Regions from separate parts of the Homo sapiens genome. Here all the other regions are linked to region 1. Evidence: promoter capture Hi-C in human tissues and cell types (Jung and others, 2019). All regions are on one chromosome and are shown on one strand. The core of a region is centred on a gene start or on the middle of the fragment in contact, and the rest is flanking DNA. Distances in the headings are between cores, read along the strand shown.

Evidence for each region. The method cuts DNA at HindIII sites, captures the fragments that hold promoters and counts their contacts. A contact is called where the count stands out against the background at its distance.
Region 2: a contact is called between a fragment that was not itself captured here and the fragment with the promoter of MYBPC3 in region 1, in 1 of the 25 tissues and cell types used here (spleen).
Region 3: a fragment that was not itself captured here is called in contact with the fragment with the promoter of MYBPC3 in region 1 in 3 of the 25 tissues and cell types used here (adrenal gland, hippocampus and mesenchymal stem cells).

Annotation. Positions count from the first base shown.
Region 1 is chr11:47,350,883-47,354,145 of GRCh38, reverse strand. It overlaps MYBPC3 (myosin binding protein C3), which reads left to right and starts at 1,444. Exons shown (of 35, transcript NM_000256.3): 1 at 1,444-1,523; 2 at 2,641-2,907. The coding sequence starts at 1,499. RefSeq lists enhancers at 1,820-2,800, 2,801-3,263. The HindIII fragment of the contact is 22,693 bases long and covers 1-3,263 here.
Region 2 is chr11:47,198,724-47,201,986 of GRCh38, reverse strand. No RefSeq gene overlaps it. Among named protein-coding and RNA genes, the nearest start is that of PACSIN3, 14 kb to the right of the region's middle. The HindIII fragment of the contact is 2,521 bases long and covers 479-2,999 here.
Region 3 is chr11:47,499,148-47,502,410 of GRCh38, reverse strand. CELF1 (CUGBP Elav-like family member 1) reads left to right here. Exons shown (of 15, transcript NM_001376376.1): 2 at 1,479-1,550; 3 at 2,807-2,958. The coding sequence starts at 2,888. Among named protein-coding and RNA genes, the nearest start is that of RAPSN, 52 kb to the right of the region's middle. The HindIII fragment of the contact is 7,858 bases long and covers 1-3,263 here.

The DNA.
Region 1 (3,263 bases), core at 195-2,694:
CGGAGAAGCCTGTAAGTCCTGTGTTTTCCTCCAGACGGTAGCAAGTAGTGGCAGTAGACAGCCTGGGAGTGAGGGACTTCCCAACGCTGTCAAAGACCTTAGGGAACCCAGATTCTGGGGCCATTATCGTAGGGACAAATACCCGCCCCACACCTCCTCAACCCCAGAGGGCTCACTGCAGCCCAACCCTGCAGCTCCCTAGTCCTACTGCAGGGCCACAAGAGAAGGCAAAATGGTGTTGTGTCTTCATTCTTCTATTTTTATTTTTTTTTTTTTGAGACAGGGTCTTACTTTGTTGCCCAGGCTGGAGTGCAGTGGCACGAACATGGCTCACTGCAGCCCTGACCCCCCGGGCTCAAGTGATTCTCCTGCCTCAGCCTCCCGAGCATCTGGGACTACAGGTGTGCGTCACATGCCTGACTGATTTTTGTATTTTTTGTACAGATGGGGTTTCATCATGTTGCCCAGGCTGGTCTCGAACTCCTGAGCTCAAGTGATCTGCCCGCCTCAGCCTCCCAAAGTGCTGGGATTACAGGTGTGAGCCACTTCGCCCAGCCCATTTTTATTTTTTTATTATTATTCTTTGAGATATTAATAATAAAAAATAATAATAAATAATATTTTTATTATTATTATCACTCTGTCACCCAGGCTGCAGTGCAGTGGTGCGATTTTGGCTCACTGCAGCCCGGAACTCCTTGGACTCAAGCGATCCTCCCACCTCAGCCTCCTGGGTAGCTGATACTACAGGTCCACACCACCACACCTGGCTAATTTGTGTGTGTGTGTGTATTTATTTTATTTTTTATTTTTTTAGTAGAGATGGGGTTTTGCCATGTTGCCCAGGCTGGTCTCAAACTCCTGGCCTCAAATAATCTGCCTGCCTCGGCCTCCCAAAGTGCTGGGATTACAGATGAGCCACCACACCCGGCCTAACATTTTTAAAATTATAAACCCACTTCATACGTGTGACAATCCTGTGCAGTGGGTGCTGCTTTCACCCACCCCGCTTTACAGATGAGGAAACCAGGTGCTTTGAGATTAAAGAGATGGCAGTGCTAGGACTCAGAGACACCCTGGCCCCAGGGTCTGTGGACATGACCACTGCCTGAACTGCCTGCGAGGATGCTCCTGACCCGTTAGCCTTAGGGTTATGGGCCCAGCATGCTCCCACCGTACAATTTGCTGTAAGAGGGACACACACGGGGCTTGGAGTACCCCTGAGGCTTGCCAAAGGTTGGGGAGGCAGAATTGTGCTGCGGGGGGTGAGGGGGGAAGGGACAGGAGCCAGCCAGGGACAATGTGGCCCTACCTTCTCCCTGGAGAGACCTCAGCTCTCTGGAATTCATCTATATTTAGCAGGTGGCTGGACAGGAGGCAGATAAGCAGAGCCTGGGGAGGGGGGAGGTCCCCATATATAGTGGGAAGGACAGGACCCCACTCAGTCCCTCTTTGGGTGACCTGTGCCTGCTTCGTGCCTGGTGTGACGTCTCTCAGGATGCCTGAGCCGGGGAAGAAGCCAGGTAGCTTTAGGACTGGGGTTGGGTCTAAGTGTGGGAGCAGGGGGGTGTCTACAATTGGGGAGCAGGGCTAGGAGGGAGTTCTTGAGGGGGTTGACGAGGACGTGGCCTCTGAGCCCCAGGACAGGGGCAGCCAGTCCTCCAGGGTCCTTTTTTGATTCTCGGTTTCTTTTTCCCATCCCTCTGATGAGAGGTGAAGGTAAACCCAAGGTCAGGGACGCAGAGAGGGGACACAGCCAAGACAGGAAGCACCCGGGGTCAACCCATTCTGAGAATGCAAAGGGACCCCTTCCCTGTCCCATTGCCTTCACCTTCCACAGCAAGGTTCCCCGCGGACAGAGCCCACGTTTAGTATGGAGCTGAGCCAGGCTCACGGCATGCCTTCAGACCAGTCTCTACCCACTATGGGTCTCAGTCTCCCAACCTGGGGTGCCGGGGGTGGTGGTGGCATTGGGTTGGTTCCTCCTGGCTGTGACATTATCTGCTTCATGAGCCTGTACGGTGTGGCCCCCATGTTGAGGGTGACACAGCCCCTCTTCTCTGAGAGAGGACAGTCAGGAGCCCCTGAACCCAGGCCAAGGGCAGGGAAAATCACAGCCCAGGGACCTGGGCCTGGGCTGTGCCCTTATGAAGGTTGTCCAGGGCAGAGATCCAGGTCCCCATCCCCCAGCGCCCTCCCAGGCCAGCTTTATCTCAGTTGCTGATACCCAGCCTGAGGTCCTTGGAGGACAAATTTGGCCACATTCCAAGTAGGCAGACTTCCCCGCCCCCTGCCAAGGGCCCGAAATGGTTGGGGGAAAGGGAGCTGGGTTCATCACGGGTGTCTCCAAGCAGGGAAAGTGGACACATGCAGAAAAAGTCTTGTTGGGAGGTCAGGACCACAGCCCTGGCTCTCCCGACTGCTAGCTGTGTGATCTTGGAGGAGCCGCTTAGCTTCTCTGAGCCTCAGTGTCCTCCTCTGAGAAATGAACAGAATAACTGCAACTACCTCAGAGAACTGGTAGAGTATTACGTGAGGGGATGCATAGAAAGTGCTAGCACAGTATTTACTGAGAGGGGCTGCAGGGGCGGGGTGCACGCTCCAACCAGGGGCCGCTGTAGCCTCCACCTGGCCCTTCAGTCTCAGCTTTTAGCAAGAAGCCACGGTCAGTGGAAGTGGCCGCAGGCAGCCCTGCCGTGTTCGAGGCCGAGACAGAGCGGGCAGGAGTGAAGGTGCGCTGGCAGCGCGGAGGCAGTGACATCAGCGCCAGCAACAAGTACGGCCTGGCCACAGAGGGCACACGGCATACGCTGACAGTGCGGGAAGTGGGCCCTGCCGACCAGGGATCTTACGCAGTCATTGCTGGCTCCTCCAAGGTCAAGTTCGACCTCAAGGTCATAGAGGCAGGTAAGATCCTGATCAGCCTTCCCTGAGGTTTGGGCTGCTGGGGGAGGGGCAGCCCAGCGACTCTCCATCCATCCAGGGAACAGGAGGTGCTTTCACACTTTCTTGCCTTTGCTGTGGCTGTGCCCCCCGCCAGGAACGCCCTTTCCCCCTTTTCTGCACATGACCTCTCTGAGTACCCCCATGTGCCATCCTGGCTTGTTCCAGCCATGGGGTAGGTGGGAGAGATGAACAAGACACAACCCCACTCTCCCCCTGCAGACCTCCCTGGGGAGATGACCCTGCACAGACGGCCGGGAAGCCCCAGGAGCTGTGGATGAGGGGAGTGCAGCCCAGTCTGAGGGGCTGCTCTAAGGCTG
Region 2 (3,263 bases), core at 490-2,989, 150 kb after region 1:
GAGGCTGAGGTGGGAGGATCACCAGAGCCCAACAGGTTGAGGCTTCAGTGAGCTATGATCATGCCACTGCACTCCAGCCTGCAGCCTGGGCAACAAAGTGAGACCTTGTCTCAAAAAAAAAGTATTAAAGTTTTTTGTCCACCCTGCATCTGGGGGCTCATCAGATGGGAATGAATGACTTTAAGCCCCTAGGAAGTGGTTTTGCTATGTAGCAAAGGGAGCCGAAGTAAAACCTGGGGTTAGTTAAGATGCCTCAAAGCACAGCCTGAAACAAAGCGCTTTACTGGAGTGTGCAAGGCAGGTCTCCACTGCTCGAACATGGTTCTTTTGTTGTTTTTTTTTTTGAGATGGTCTCCCTCTGTTGCCCAGGCTGGAGTCCAGTGGTGCGATCTTGGCTCACTGTAACCACTGCCTCCCAGGTTCAAGTGATTCTCCTGCCTCAGCCTCCCAAGTAGCTGGGACTACAGGTTCACCACACCTAAGTTTTGTATTTTTAGTAGAGATGGGGCGTCATCATGTTGGCCAGGCTGGTCTCAAACTCCTGACGTCCAGTGATCCACCCATCTTGGCCTCCCAAAGTGCCAGGATTACAGGCATGAGCCACCGTGCCTGGCCCGCACATGGTTCTTTCTATCCACCATGGAAAACCTCTCAAATCCTAAAAATGCATTCTGGGAAAATGTGGCATTAAGCAGGACATTTGCCTTGCTCATAAATCCATTATAGCTAGAGGCGGCCTCCCTGCCCATGCATTTCCTGCTGCCTCTGCCTGGAGCACCCTCCCCCTCCCCCTCGATCAATCTCAAGATTCAGCTTAAGTGTCACCTTCTTTGGGAAGACTTCCTTGACACTATCTTTTCCTTTTTCTTTCTTTCTTTTCTTTTCTTTTCTTTTCTTTTTTTTTTTGAGGCAGGGTCTCTCTCTGTTGCCCAGGCTGGAGTGCAGTGGCATAATTGCAGCTCACTACAGCCTTGAACTCAAGTGGTCCCTCCACATCAGCCTCCCCAGTAGCTGAAACTACAGGTGCAAGCCACCATGCCCCAGTATTTTTTTGTTTTGTTTTTTTGTTTTGTTCTAGAGTCATGGTCTTGCTATGTTGCCCAGGCTGGTCTTGAACTCCTGGCCTCAAGTGATCCTCCTGCCTTACCCTCCCAAAGTGCTGGGATTGCAAAGTGCTGGGATTACAGGTGTGAGTCACCACGCCCGGCCAACACTGTTCATTCTTTTTATTTATTTATTTTTTTGAGACGGAGTTTCGCTCTTGTTGCCCAGGCTGGAGTGCAATGGCGCAATCTCGGCTCACAGCAACCTCCACCTCCCGGGTTCAAGCCATTCTCCTGCCTCAGCCTCCAGAGTAGATGGGATTACAGGCATGTGCCACCACACCCAGCTAATTTTGTATTTTTAGTAGAGACAGGGTTTCTCCATGCTGGTCAGGCTGGTCTTGAACTCCAGACCTCAGGTGATCTGCCTGCCTCGGCCTCCCAAAGTGCTGGAATTACAGGCATGAGCCACCGTGCCCAGCCAACACTGTTCATTCTTTACCCCATCCTAAGCTGACTTAAAGTGCCCCTTTTCTGTGCCCCCCCTCCCTCCATGCCTCTTCTCTCAGCAAGCTTATCGCGTTCCATTGTAGTTGTAGGTTTACTTGTCTCCCACTCTTAGAAGAGACAGTCCATTGGGAGCAAAGAGTATTTTCCATTTCAGCATTTCTTTTTTGTTTTTGTTTTTTTTAAGACAGGCGTCTAGGCCGGGCACAGTGGCTTACACCTGTAATCCTAGCACTTTGGGAGGCCAAGGTGGGCAGATTGCTTGAGCCCAGGCGTTTGAGACCCGCCTGGGCAACTTGGTGAGACTCTGTCTCTACAACAATAACAACAACAACAACAACTTAGCTGGGCATATGCAAGCCTGTAGTCCCAGTTACTCAGGAGGCTGACAGGGGACAATTACTTGAGCCTGGAAGGTGGAGGTTGCAGTGAGCCGAGATCGCACCACTGCATCCCAGTCTGGGTGACAGAATGAGACCTTGTCTCGCAGGAAAAAATAAAATAAAAAGACAGGAGTCTGGCTCTGTCACCCAGGCTGGAGTGCAGTGGCATGATCATAGCTCACTGTAATCTTGAATTCCTGGCTCCAGTGATCCTCCTGCCTCAGCCTCTCAAAGGGCTGGGATTACAGGCATGAGCCACCACGCCTGGCTGAGCGTTCCCTTTGAAACAGTGAGGAGGAGAGTAGATTTTAAATAAATGTCAGTATAATTAATGATTCTTCTGCCTGCCATCCAATCACCCCCTTTATCTGGCCCCTCTTACCTTTTTTTTTTTAGACAGACTCTCACTCTGTCGCCCAGGCTGGAGTGCAGTGGTGCGATCTGGGCTCACTGCAACCACCAACTCCTGGGTTCAAGCAATTCTCCTGCCTCAGCCTCCCAAAGTAGCTGGGACTACAGGCACGTGCCACCACGCCCAGCTAATTTTTTTGTATTTTTAGTAGAGACGGGGTTTCACAGTGTTAGCCAGGATGGTCTCCATCTCCTGACCTCGTGATCCACCTGCCTCAGCCTCCCAAAGAAGTGCTGGGATTACAGGCATGAACCACTGCGCCCAGCCTTTTTTTTCCTTTTTTGAGACAGAGTCTGGCCCTGTCACCCAGGGTGGAGTGCAGTGGTATGACCTCGGTTCACTGCAACCTCCACCTTCCAGGTTTAAGCAATTCTCCTGCCTCAGCCTCCCGAGTAGCTGGGACTACAGGTGTGCGCCACCATGCCTGGCTAATTTTTGTATTTTTAGTAGAGACAGGGTTTTTCCATGTTGGCCATTCTGGTCTTGAACTCCTGACTTCAGGTGATTTGCCTGCCTCAGTCTCCCAAAGTGCTGGGATTACAGGCGTGAGCCACTGTACCTGGCCTCCTCTTACATTTTTTAAAGGAAATAGAGGCAAGAGAGGCCTCACTATGTTGCCTAGGCTGGCCTCAAACTCCTGGGCTCAAGTGACTTTCCTGCCTCATCCTCCTGAGTAGCTGGGGCTCCAGGCACACGCTACTGTGCCCAGCCAGCCCCTCTGACTCTTGAAAGATCTTCAATATGAGGATCTCTTCAAACTGCCTCCTATCCTACCAATAAACGTCACTGTTCCCAGCCAGCCACCACCAGGAACACACCTGTAGCTGAAATTTGGGTTTATTGCTGTTTGCAGTGGAGAATGTGTACTGGGGGAATGACGGGACATCTGTCTAAGAGGGTGTTAGAAAGGACTTATTA
Region 3 (3,263 bases), core at 349-2,848, 150 kb before region 1:
CTTAACTTCATAACCTCTTTCTAAAATTGACTTGTGATTAATTTCTGTGCTCTCTTTTCCCAAAGTATGTTGAATTTAATTATACTGAGATAACTCTGGTGACCTGCCTGAGAAGAAGTGCCCTCTTTCATGTAATAACATTTCCATCTTGTAGGTTTTTAAAGCGGTGTTGCTTTATAAATCATAAAATGGACTTTAATAGCAGTATAAGCACAGAGAATTTATGGGCCCTGCTTTCTATTTTCAACTGCTTTATAAATTGGGCCTCTGGAGACTTCTTTTGAACAAAAGTTCTATGACTGGGAAAAAATGATTTTAAGACATTACTCTAAATCATATTTCCCAGCCCTTGGCTTGGTGGAAACTATTTTAAGGAGAGCACATCTTTTCATACATTGGACAGTGCCTGGCAACTCAGTAATGTCTCCATTTAAGTAGTCTTTTGTTATAGATGTGATTCTGATTTGAACTAGAGATACAATTAGATTTCATATGTTTTTAGGAAATATTAAAAACACAATAACCTTGAAATTTAGGTAAGTTCCTTGAAATTTATTGAATCCTTTTTAAAGGATTTTTTTTTGGTGGGGGAGACGGAGTCTTACTGTCGCCCAGGCTGGAGTGCAGTGGCGTGATCTCAGCTCACCACAGCCTCTGCCTCCTGGGTTCAAGCTATTCTCCTGCCTTAGCCTCCCGAGTAGCTGGGGTTACAGGCGTGTGCCACCTCGCCCAGCTAATTTTTTTTTTTGATATTTTTTAGTAGAGATGGGGTTTCACTATCTTAGCCAGGCTGGCCTTCAACTTCTGACCTCAGGTGATCCGCCCGCCTTGGCCTCCCAAAAGTGTTGGGATTGATTACAGGCGTGAGCCACCATGAGCTGTTGTTGCTCAGCCTTTTTAAAGCCTGGAATGTCTTTTTAGAGGAATTCTTGCACTAAAAGATCTAATTTGGTTGTCGACTCAGTTATTCTTTGGTCTAGGCAGCTTTCTATAGGAAGAGGCATGCCATCAGTTCCAATGTACGTAGGAGAAACTAGGACAAACATAGCCAGTAATCTAACCAGCCCCAGCTAGGGTTACCATCTTCTGCCTGACAGGCATGGGCTTGGTAAACTGTGTACTGTGTGTCAGTTGCACAGTCTCCTCTCACTTGCAGTTTGTTTTTGCCGCTTTAATAGGGTGGAAGAGAGCTCCTGCCACTTCTGCCTCTATAGTAGTAAATCAGATGAGCGAGTCTCTGGCAAAAATAGAAAAAGCAGTAAGCTGCTGTTACAGTACAGTTCTAGATTTTGGATGATGACGTCTGGACATGGACAGAAGAGACAGTTTTCACCTTCCTGGGTCAGGTGCAGACAGATGTTAGCCATTGTTACACAGATTAGAACTTCTAGGCCTATGCCATTGTGTGTTGCCTTTCTTTTTTTTTTTTAACGTTAACTCTGTGTGTTTAGTAGTTCATTCGTTTTACTTCTTTGCAGGCTGAACATAACTTCTTTTTTTCAAAGTTCCCTGTGTTGTGAACTGAGCTTGGGTGAAGTGAAATCTTTGAGGTAAGGCAACTCTAATGATAAAAATGGAAAGAAAGCCTGTGAAATTTGGGAGCCTTCAGAGATAACATTTTAGAGTCACTGCCTAAATATTGAAATGCCGCCATTTGTTGTTTGGGGGGATGTGGAGCTAAATTGAGAACGGGAGCACACATCTGCCTTGACTGCTAAGTATATCCATCTCTACTGCTCACCCATAATAGAATTTTTATGTGTGCACTCACTAGTCTTGGTTTTATCAACAGTTTAAAGGAGGAAAAAGAGAATGAAGAGACTTCATTTCTTGGTTTTTCCCTTACATGTTTGAGTGTTGTCCCTGGTAGGCCCTAGTTCTTTTTCATTATTATCACTAAAGTGGCTTTTGTTCTTTGTTTCTTTAGAAAGGACAACAGAGAACTGAAAATACATTATTTCCTAGTATGCTAGTAAGAAGCAGAATATTACTATTCCATTTTTATTTTCTGGCAGATGAAGCTTCAGAGTTAGTAAAGAAAATTTCCCTGTGCCATCTAATGAGTGTTACTGAACAAAGGATTTTTGAAGTCTTTCACCCAGATGAGGAACCATTAGATAGCACACCTTGCTCTAACCATTAGATAGCACATCAAGAAAGCAAGGTCAGTTGAGAAATTGATGCTCTTTTGAAAATATCAAGAAAAAAAAAAAAGCAAGGCTGATCAACTGTAGGCAGTTGTATGTGAGTGGTAAGTTTCTGGTGGCCAGTTTATTCAACCAGTTTGCCTCTGGCCTGCTTCTGATGGTCTTATCATTCCTCTTTATGTGACTGTTCTGAGGTTAGTTTGGACCTAAGCACTGTGCTCATTGCTGTCTTTGGCACATGGAAACGTAAGTTTAAAAGCAAGGCTAACAACCCATTTCTTCGGTGAGCCTTTTCTTGCTTCAGGTAGTTTCAGGCTTTGGGGGACCTTAAAAACTGGTTTGCAGGGAGGAGTTTGGAGGATGTGAAACAAGTTTGTGTTTCTTCTGCTCTGTTAGCCACTGCTATCTTCATGGATCTGACACTATTTATCTGACAGTGCACTTAGTACTGCTTCGCCAGGGAAAATTGCACAAAACAAGCCTGGCGCATCAGCACTTTCATTGTGTGCTGGGCTGAGCCTCCCTTCACATGGTCACATCCCCATTTTAATCCAATACTCCCTTTCCCTACCCCTTCCCCAGTCCTGCCTCTTTCTGTGGCACTTATTGCTGGTTTCCCTGAGCTCCTGTTTCCACTTTGTGTTTTTTGTGGGGCCCAGGAAGCTAAAGCTGTGTGTATTTGTGGATCAGACAAGTGCAGCAAGTTAATATCATTGGCTTCTGAAGGGGAGAGTGAGGTGATGGCTGCGTTTAAGTTGGATTTCCTTCCAGAAATGATGGTGGATCATTGCTCTTTGAATTCCAGTCCCGTGTAAGTATTTTTGTTGTCTAATTTTTATCATAAGCAGAGGAACTGGGCTGTTTTCTTTATTTGATGAAATTGGTTCCTTTTTTTAAGAAGGGGAAGAGAAAAATGGGGAAAGAAGCCAAAACAACCTGAATTCTCTCATGCTATTATTTTCAATTGTAGTCTGTCTCATTACTGCTTATTTCCTCAAGGCTTTAAGTTATTTACATAAAGGTGCACTTGATATATGACCAGCAGCATCAGCTCAAGTGTGCTAGCTCCAATTCCTTTAAGCTGTAGTGTTTTCCTATATGATAGATTACAAGGTA